Regions from separate parts of the Homo sapiens genome. Here all the other regions are linked to region 1. Evidence: promoter capture Hi-C in 16 types of primary human blood cells and fetal thymus (Javierre and others, 2016). All regions are on one chromosome and are shown on one strand. Each heading gives the region's core, a stretch centred on a gene start or on the middle of the fragment in contact. The rest is flanking DNA. Distances are from core to core; before and after follow the strand shown.

Region 1 (3,269 bases), core at 442-2,941:
TTGACACAACTATCAACTCTGCTTTGTCTCTGCAAAACGTTTAATGTGCCTCCCCACCACCTCCTCCAGACTCCTTCCCGCTCCTCCTCCTTCTCCCCTTCTGCCTCTCCCCTGTGTCTGATCTGCCCTTGCTCTCAAGACTGTCTTCCAGAAACTCACTACAACTGAATAAAACTTTTTTCTCCCTCAGAGGTAGCAAAGAAGAGAAGGAAGAGGATGAGAAGAGACAACAGAGGTATGAACTTGTGAAACAACCTCAGAGCAGCATTCGAAACATCAGCTGGGATGCACAGAATTGCAACTATTTACACAAAGCCAGCAAGTTATTAAGAATGAACACAAGGCTAGGGCGTTTGTGATCCCAGTTTTAGTGGCTGAAATTGTAATTAAACTGCGAAGAGAAATGGACGCTAAGATTGGCCTTGACACTAATTACCAGAAAGAAAGACATTTATGCAAATGTATCAGAAGGCTGAACTTCAGCCATTCGGAACCCTCCCCCCTGTGTGTTTGGGGGTAAGGGGTAAGTAAAAGGAAAAGAGGCTAGAGAAATTACCTTCTCTAATTCCAATAGATGAAACCTTAATACTTGTATGGCTTGAATCATCTGCAAAGATACAAAAACAATAAGCACCCCATTCCTGGCTTGCAGAAAACTGGCTGCCACAGCTCTACCATCTCCAGCCCACCCCCTCCCACCAGTAAATAGAGTTATTTTGATTTATGGCAATAACACTAAAACTTAATAGCAGCAACTGGGTACCATCTAGAGGTTTATATTTCTTAAGAAAAAAAAAACTAGCTAAAACAACAACACAGCATCTAAGTGAGGATCATAAACACTCTCCTCCCCCATGGCTCTCCCCTTTCTCAGTCCCACTGGCCCCACCCCACCCCAAAAGGGCCACAACACTGGACTACATGTGTCCTTGGAAGGAGTGGACAGAAAAATATTCCAAATGGCCCTCAAACTGTGGCTTTTCCCATTGCAAAGTTTCTGCTGCCTTCCTTACACCTTTCAGGCAAACTGGTTGTTTGGGGGCTCTTGTCCGGTGGCTGCCCTCGTGATGGGACTTAGAGGGCTAGGAAGTCCGCAAAGTTTAAGCACACATGCTGACAGGCCGGGAGATAAATCCCCGCGCTGATTAGAGCTGCGCAGCCCGGCTGTCATAAAAAACAAAAGCTCGCGTTTCCCCGCGCTGGCTCGCCCGGCCCCTCTCGAGATGAATTTATTTCCCCGGGATCTTGTCCCGGACCAGTTGTCCGTGTACAGAAACATTTGCAGCCAACCTGCAGGCACGGGAAGACCGGTCTAGAAATCTCAGGGCTCTCAAAGCAAAGCTGAGGGCGTTGGAGGTGGGAGGTAGGGGGTCGGGGGCGGGGGAGGGAAATAGGGGTCCGCTCTTACCAAGTTATCCAGTTCTGGATTAGAAGAAAATAGAGGTTTTTCTGCGCGAATCTAAATACAAGTGAGAAGGAGAGGGGAGAGGGAGGGGAGAGAAAAAAGAAAGAAAAATTTGAAATCTGGTCGCCTTCCTAGTTTCTTGCCTCATTACACTGTCGGGGGCAGGAAGTAACCCTCCGGGAGGGACCCGGTGACACCGAGTTCGTCCCGCGCAGAAACATTTCAGTGTGAATTAAATAAGCTGAAAACAAGCCCAGAGCTCAATCTTACTTCTACTAGCAACTACGGCTCTCGGGGAGGCTGCTCAGACCGCCGAGTCCACAGCAGCTACAACCGTGGTGTTCTTGATTTTATTCTGCAGAGTGAGCTCTCCACGTTTGCTTTCTGGAGGGTGAGTGGGGATGCAGATGGGTGATTTTAAGTTATCTGCAAACAGACACTCAGACAGAGAGAAAATCTGAGGTTGGAGGTAACATGCATGGCTTAAGGCCGACTACGTGCTGGCTACTTTTGAAAGTGTGCCGTGTGTGTGTGTGTGTGTGTGTGTTCGCGCGCGCGCGCGCGCGTGTGTGTTGGCGAAGGGGGGGCTCTCTTTTTGTTTCTTTTACTTTTTAACATCTATTTTGCTGACCTGTTTGGCGAACACGGCTATATCTTCATTGAATGACTCTGACGAGCAGACGTCCCCGCCCGCCACCCCCGGCTCGCGGGGGGTACAAGTAGCTAATTCACATTTCTCAAAAATCAGTGCTAAGAGAGGGAAGAGGGGGTGTCTGCAAGAAAATACAACAGTCACAAACAACATAATGGTTAGTCCCCAGTCAATGGAAAAAGGTGCCCAAGAAAAACAGCTGGAGGAGCAAGAGGAACAGACCCCCTCTCCGATTGTGTCATCTACTTTTTTCCTTTTCCTCCCCCTCCCCCAGACCCAGGTGACCGCTCACCTCCCCTTCCTCCTGGAGCCCTGAAGTCGGAGGCCCTGAGCCATGGACGGTATCTGAGGATCGGTTTAGCGTATCTGGCCGGAGAAATTGGCAACATTTGCTACGAATAAAACCCAAGCGTTTCCAGCAGCCATTTTGAATTAAGTTTCCCACCCGACAAGCCCTCGTCCCCTCCACTGCACATCCAGGATCCGGTGGAGGAGAAAGGCGCCGGGCGGAGAGTTGGGGAGGGCTGGTTCCTGCGGGTTCCTCCTAGGCGGCCGCGCGAAGCCCAGGCTCGGGGGATCTCGGTGGCAGGCGCTCAGCTAACTTGGGGAAAGGACGTCCATGGCCGTGGGGCCGACTGTCAACGGGCTGCACCTAGGGATCCCAACCCCAAGGCCCTCGGAGAGCCGGGAGGCTCCTCCTCAGCTCCACGCACATTCCCCTCCCTTCGCTGATAGCCCCCACCGCCCCCCAAAGAAAGTTCCTTCAAATGTTCCTGCAGTAGAGCCTTTCATTTTGTCTCTGCGAAGTGGCAAAGCAGCTAGTATTGCGAGGGGCCTAGATGTCGCTTGTCTCAGCCCATAAAAAAGAAAAAAAAAAAAAAAAGAAGAAGAAGAAGAAAGAAAGAAAAGCTTCTTCTAATGCCCAAGGAGGTATCTCAAGTCTTTTATTAGCTCTCACAGCTCAGCTGGGAATTTAACAGTTTGGGGTCCTTTACAAAGCTTCCCCAAATGTTCTGTCCCAGAGCCTAAACCACTTGTAGTTAACTCTGCGGACAGAACGGTGGGAATTAAACAAGCCCATCGCACAAGGGATCAGAAAATAAAATAAAAAGATTATATATATTTTTTTTTCCAGCGAGGGAGGGTCAGTGTGTCCTGATTTTTTAAAAATAAATAAATAGAAATAAAAGTTTCTGCAAAGTAAAAAGAGGT
Region 2 (3,269 bases), core at 274-2,773, 110 kb before region 1:
AACATTTACATCTAAACAGGTACCTATATTTATAGAATCTTTGATTATTTGTAAAAGTATTTGCTATATTATTACCATAACTCAGAAAGAAACTTGACCTTTAACAGCTGAATCTGTTTATTATAATAAAGGAGATCTTATTTTTAAAAAATAAGTTTACATTTTTACTTGCCAGTGGCATAAATCTCCAAGGATAACATACTTTTTTCCCACTCATAATAAATGGGAAGTGATGCCTGAATGCTTTGCAGCTTTGAAAGCAATAAATGAAATAACTAGGAAAATCTGGTATGAGCACTAAATCTAAGAAATGTAGAGTACCATAGTTCTGAACAGTGTCATCTTGGCTGCTAGGATGGAACCTGGAATTTTATATGCTCTCTTGATGGAGAATAATTTTTCTCTATATATAAATACTGTATTTCACATACACTATATATTTTGCACCTAAAACCCATATTGCCTTCTCAGAGCATAAAGGGATAATCATTTAATATCAGAACTTAATAGGAAAGTGTTTGGATGAGGAGTAGTAAACAAAGAAACTGTAAAATGTATTCAGTACACCCTAGGCCAAAACTCTGCTGAGGCAGGAGGCAACTGAGGCATCCAGTAAGTACGACACAAGTACAAGAGATAAGTTTTCATCACAGGGAATTCCCAGGTCCGCAACACTGGTGTGATCATGTATAAGGGAATTTTTATCTGACCATTCTACACTCACATTTTCAATATAAAAAAATTAAGTTGGTCTATTCAGGAGAAAAAACAACCAAGTATTGATTGTGTGTGTGTGTGTGTGTGTGTGTGTGTCTTCCATAAAGTTCTACTTAAATACTTAAAGGTCTAAACAACCATCTAATCTCAAAATTTAAGATGTTTCTACTTAAATTACTAAAACATTTGCATATTGGTAATGTTTGCACTGCTGATATAACATAAGTATTTGTTAAAACCACAACAACAGTAAAAAAGCAAAGAGACAAAAGCCCCTGATGCTATTATTTATCATTTTTGGATAAAATTATAATTGGGAGCAAGGGACCAAAGAAGGAAGAATACATAAATCTCTGGTGCATATTATGTTTCGAAAATGATTACACTTTTAAATCTAAGTCAACCACAACATACTAGATTGAAATATTTAGACAACTAGTTATGGAGGTTGATTTTTTAAAAATATGCAGTCACATCAAATACTTAGATAATTTATTTAAAAATATTTTACTCAAATTATTTACATAATTGCCTCAATTCTCAAAAAATTTATTGGCATAGACTTGGCCCACAATGTCACATCTAATAAATTTCACATTCCATCCTAGGGCCCACATGCTGTAAGTACTGATGCCAACCATTTTAAGATTCTTTCTCTCCATTTTTATTCTGACAATTGGACCAAAATAAGAGTTATAACGAGATTTTCTTTTTTCCAGATTTTCTCTTAATTAATCAAATCAGTCTTATTGTTTTACTTTTAAGTTCTCTCCTCTTTTGCCTTTCTCCCCTCAAATCCCATGTACTTTAGCCTTAGCCACCTGAGGCAGGTAGTATATATCACTGTCAATTCGAGAAATGTAAAATTAGTTCAGTGATGAAGTGAAAGAACCATTAAAATGTAGCAAACTTCTTGTCTATTTTTCAGTCAAAGCCTAACTTAAAACTGCATCAGCCAGGATTTCTATGACACTCTAACAACTAGACATGAGTTTATATTTTTCACTTACATATTATATATTTTGATACATTATGTTACTGCTAATAATTATGACTGATCTACACTCAACCTGTCCTTCAGCATTTTATTGAATTGCATTTCAACAGTGACTCATAGTTCATACAAAAATGTACATGTGTATTAACAAGTTTTAAGAAATCCAAGAAGGAAGACACAGATGTTTAAAAGTTGTGGATAAATAAATGAAAGGGAAACACAGAAATACTAATGATGACATTTTCAAAATTATTATTTTTAGTAGAAAATAACTTGTACCGATGCTCAGTATAGCTAAGATGAAAAACATTTTTTATAAAAAATGTTTATAAGTGGGTGCAGTAGCTCACGCCTGTAATCCCAGCACTTTGGGAGGCTGAAGTGGGTGGATCTCTTGAGCCCTGGAGTTAGAGACCAGCCTGGGCAACATAGCAAAACCCCTGCCTCAACAAAAGAAAAAAAAATTAACTGGGCATGGTGGCATATGCCTGTATTCCCAACTACTGGGGAGGCTGAGTCAGGAGGATTACTTGAGCTAGGAGTTGGAGGTTGCAGTGAGCCATGTTCACACCACTGCACTCCAGCCCGGACAACAGAGCAGGACTCGGTATCAAAACAAAACAAAACAAAACAAAACAAAACAAAACAAAACAAAACAAAACAGGAAGAGGTTTCTATAAAAATTAATAAACCATTAAAAATTCAAATCAAACATGGTATTGTCATTATTTGTCAAACTAAAGAAAAACAATCTCTCTTACAACTTTTAGTTACTTGAGGGACATTTTCTACAGCAAACAACATTGTTAAATGTTGAAACAATTGCCAAATGCAAAGCACTGTGGTGCAAGCAAAAGCCACTTCTAACTCCATATATATACAAGTAGAGAGAAACCACACACTGCACAAAGTGGCAGTTAAGCACAGAATTGTGTTTCTGTCCCAAATAACTAATTAAAAGCTATTTTTAAGTTATTTACCCGTGCAGAATTGAATAGCAGTGTGAAGTTTAGGGTAAAGTCTGCATATACTTTAAAATTATTTTAGAGTGTGAATTAAAACTTTTTAAACATCCTTTCTCTCCCTTCTGGTTACAAAACTGAGAAAGTCGAATTGTGATCATGGACTGATTAGGAAGATTGCTCTCCGGCAGAGACTGTGCATAGAATTTAGAAAACTGTGTGTATATATATATTGCTTGAAGTCACAAGAATGCCTTCCTCTTCCTGCATTCACAGGAAATATCCCATAATAAGGCCGTCCACCCATAGTAAGCAACTTGTATTGGGATTTGTTCTCTGGTAACTGTGTTTATGAGTGGAGTTTGCTAGCAACCCTGCAGAGGAAGAGAGATGGCTCACAGGATAGATCCCCTGAATGACAGCGCTTTTCGTTTCTTAACTAGAGAGCTTGTCCTGCCACTCCTTTGCCCGCAAACAGGAACACTTCCCAGGGAAATGCGGACATTTGTGCAGCCTCCATTGTATTAAAACTGTCTCAACATCAGCTTTAAGTTTTAAAATACAGATATATGAATCTAGATGTGCACGCAAAA
Region 3 (3,269 bases), core at 509-3,008, 84 kb before region 1:
ATCTGCAGAGCCTCTGCAGGAGTCTAGGAGCTAGCATGCCACACACACTGCCCTCACTCCATGATAACTTCCGTCGCTGCATATTGTCACCAGAGCACTGAAGCTATGAAGATGTTTCCTTGTGGTGGAGGTGAACCACAACATTCTGTATCATGGGACCTTCAGGGCTACCCCTCCACCCACCCGAACACACAAGTGTACTGTCAACAAGCCCAGAAGAAACAGTCTGTCTTTCTGCAGAGCCCTGCGTCTATCAGAAGCTTTCAGAGTACTTGAGGGATCCAATGAAAGTGCTTTGATATTCAAAAGGAACTTCTTATATGCTTAAAAAACATTGAAAGTTGGCAGAGAAAAAATAAAACATTTTGTCAAACTAATATGATAAAAACAATGGGGTAAGCTTCAAAATCAGGGGGGCAAAATCAAAGTATAAAAATCAAAGAGAAAAACAATCATCTTTCCATTTAAAATCTGTCATCTTGCTTGTGTACCTTAGATCCTTTCTATGCAAGCTGCAGTCTGTGGACCAGCAGCACCAGCAGCAATAGGAGCTTGCTGAAAATGCAGAATCTCAGGCCCCAACCCTCTCAATCAGAATCTACATTTTTAAAAAGATCCAGATAATTTAAATGCATGCCATAGCTTAAAGAGCACTGTTTTTGTTTGTTTGTTTGTTGTTTTTTGTTTGTTTGTTTTTGAGACAAGGTCTCACTCTGCCGCCCAGGATGGAGTGCAGTGGAGTGATCTTGGCTCACTGCAACCTCCACCACCTGGGCTCAAGCGATTTTCCTGCCTTAGCCTCTTGAGTAGCTGGGACTACAAGCGTGCCCCGCCACACCAGGCTAAGTTTTGTATTTTTGTAGAGACAGGGTTTCACCATGTTGCCCATTGAATTCCTGGTCTTGAATTCCTGGGCTCAAGCAATCTGCCTGTCCTGGTCTCCCAAAGTGCTAGGATTACAGGCATGAACCACTGTGCTCAGCCAAGGAGCACTGTTTTTAAAGAAGCAAAAGAATTTTCAATTCTGTAGTAATTTTCATTTTCTAGTTTTTCAGGTGATAGACTTTCACTTTTTTAAAGTTACTTGTTATACCTCAGTTAAAACTCCAGATGTGTTCATTGTTAAATCACATGATAAATTTGACAAGTTCGGAGAAATGTTGTAAATATTTTCATGAAATATTTGTGTAAAATACTTGTGTGAAAAAAAATTTAAAGGCTTCTATTTAGAACCTAAATAATCACTGTACTTCTTTTCATCATACCAACTTAGCAATGTTTCCAATGATATGACTTATCACAATATCACCTTTTTTTTTAATTTTTTAAATTTTATTTATTTATTCATTTTGAGACAGGGTCCCACTCTGTCGCCCAGGCTGGAGTGCAGTGGTGCAATCTTGGCTCACTGCAGCCTAACACACCTGGGCTCAAGTGATCCTCCCACCTCCTCCCAAGTAGCTGGGACTACAGGCATTAGCCACCACACCTGGCTAATTTTTTAACTTTTTGTAGAGATGGGGTTTCATCATATTGTCCAGGCTGGTCTTGAACTCCGGGGCTTAAGCAGTCTTCCTTCCTCAGCCTCCCAAAGTGCTGGGACTACAGGCAACAGCCACTGCTCCTAGCCACAATATTACCTTTACATACTGATTTTCAAAACCCAGAGTCAGGCTGGACCATGCCTGCTTTGTCATGAGCAAGGAAGGTAGTTGAGCAATTATTGTCTAAGTTCAGACAGCACAAGAAGGTAAACAGGACACTTCAAGCCAGCAAAACTCTTTTTCTCTCCAACAAAAGGCACCTTCTCCTCCAATGACCAGGATAATAACTTTAACCTCATTTTATTTCGATCATAAGAGCAAATTTTGGTCTCTGACATGCAAGTACATTTGGCCTTGCTTCTCTCCTTGCCTTCCTATCTCTGGTAGTCAACAAATCAACATTTTGACTGTATTTAAATTATTTATCATGAAATTGGTAATGAATTTTTAGAAATAGGAACAACGAGTGGAAAACTTAACATTCTGAGGGGCTACCAAATAAGGTCTGCCTTCTCATTTTCAGAGGCTAACACCTACCACTTAGGACATCAGAATAGCTCCACAATTCCACACGCTATGACAGTCAACCTACGTGACATGTTACCCATGTTAGTTCAAATGTAAAATACAGCATTTGTAGCCCTGGAGATTAACTGAATTATAATGCCACATTTGAATGCTACTTTACAGATTTTTTCCAAAGGCTCTGAGCATCTACTCCTTAATTAAATTTAATTTGGTTTCCACATAGAGTGCTGTTGAGCATATTCACTTCAACATACACGTCAGCTCAAAATACATCATCTTCACCTTCCAACTACAGCGTTATGAAGATGTTTCCTTGTGGGAACATTCAAAACTGATTTATGGTGCTATTGCAACAACTAAGCAACTAATCTTCCAGTATAAATGTAACACATAAGAACAACCTAACTGAAACATATAAATTCCACATATACTTAAAAATATTATTGTCTGTAATTTAATATAGGAGAATGTTTCTAAGCCTACAACCTTGCATGCAGAAGCAGTTTTTCAAGCATTAATACTTAAATGGGTCATAGACACCACATCTGTCATTCTGTCCTGAAGTCTATGAGGCAAAACCAAGACTATGCTGGCCTATTGATTTTTCTAGCATTTGCTTTAATTTACTTAACCATTGAGAAATCCATCAGTACATAAACGGCAACTGTCCATTACTGCCTCATTTGCAGACATTCTTTCCCCTCGTTTTTGGTAAATATTTCCCTTAAATTGCTATGTGTTTACAGTGTAAAAACGAATTAGGAAACTGCTCACACCTGTTTCTGTTCAGTAACTGCTGCACTGAGGTATATGTAACATGCTTAAAGATAGAATAAATATCTAGACATTATTACATCTGTGTGCAAAGGGTGGTAAATTAGATCCTAATTACATTAACAGGGATTCTGCCTCCCAGCTTAAATTTTACATGAGCACTCTGCAAAAATCCAAAAGCTCTGCTGTGGTTTCTTTATGAGCTGGTGATTACAGCTACTTCCTATGCGGTCACTAAATATTCTGTTTACAAATAAATGAAGAAGCTTTGAGCCGACTTGCCAGAGTAATAATCTATTTTTTTCTCCCCCTCCCTCTTCCCAACAAACCCTCGCCACATATGCATGGCAACAGTCAGAAGCCCTGGCTTCATCTAATTACTCCATCACATAATTTCACAAATTGCCTTTTCACTGGGGAGCC

What was found. The method cuts DNA at HindIII sites, captures the fragments that hold promoters and counts their contacts. A CHiCAGO score of 5 or more calls a contact.
Region 2: a contact is called between a fragment that was not itself captured here and the fragment with the promoter of MEIS1-AS2 in region 1, in 1 of 17 cell types (megakaryocytes). The highest score is 5.4, in megakaryocytes.
Region 3: a contact is called between a fragment that was not itself captured here and the fragment with the promoter of MEIS1-AS2 in region 1, in 1 of 17 cell types (megakaryocytes). The highest score is 6.6, in megakaryocytes.

What each region holds. Positions count from the first base shown.
Region 1 is chr2:66,438,752-66,442,020 of GRCh38, reverse strand. It overlaps MEIS1-AS2 (MEIS1 antisense RNA 2), which reads left to right and starts at 1,691. Exons shown (of 2, transcript NR_046625.1): 1 at 1,691-1,796; 2 at 2,332-2,934. It overlaps MEIS1 (Meis homeobox 1), which reads right to left. Exons shown (of 13, transcript NM_002398.3): 3 at 2,037-2,178; 4 at 1,409-1,459; 5 at 557-607. RefSeq lists an enhancer at 1,381-2,580. The HindIII fragment of the contact is 4,208 bases long and covers 1-2,968 here.
Region 2 is chr2:66,549,573-66,552,841 of GRCh38, reverse strand. The region is part of intron 9 of MEIS1 (Meis homeobox 1); the gene reads right to left. LOC124900511 (a long non-coding RNA gene) reads right to left here. Exons shown (of 2, transcript XR_007086610.1): 1 at 1-3,269. Among named protein-coding and RNA genes, the nearest start is that of LINC01798, 23 kb to the left of the region's middle. RefSeq lists an enhancer at 2,856-3,269. The HindIII fragment of the contact is 8,417 bases long and covers 1-3,269 here.
Region 3 is chr2:66,522,641-66,525,909 of GRCh38, reverse strand. All of the region lies in intron 8 of MEIS1 (Meis homeobox 1), which reads right to left. Among named protein-coding and RNA genes, the nearest start is that of LINC01798, 50 kb to the left of the region's middle. RefSeq lists an enhancer at 2,001-3,269. The HindIII fragment of the contact is 2,712 bases long and covers 403-3,114 here.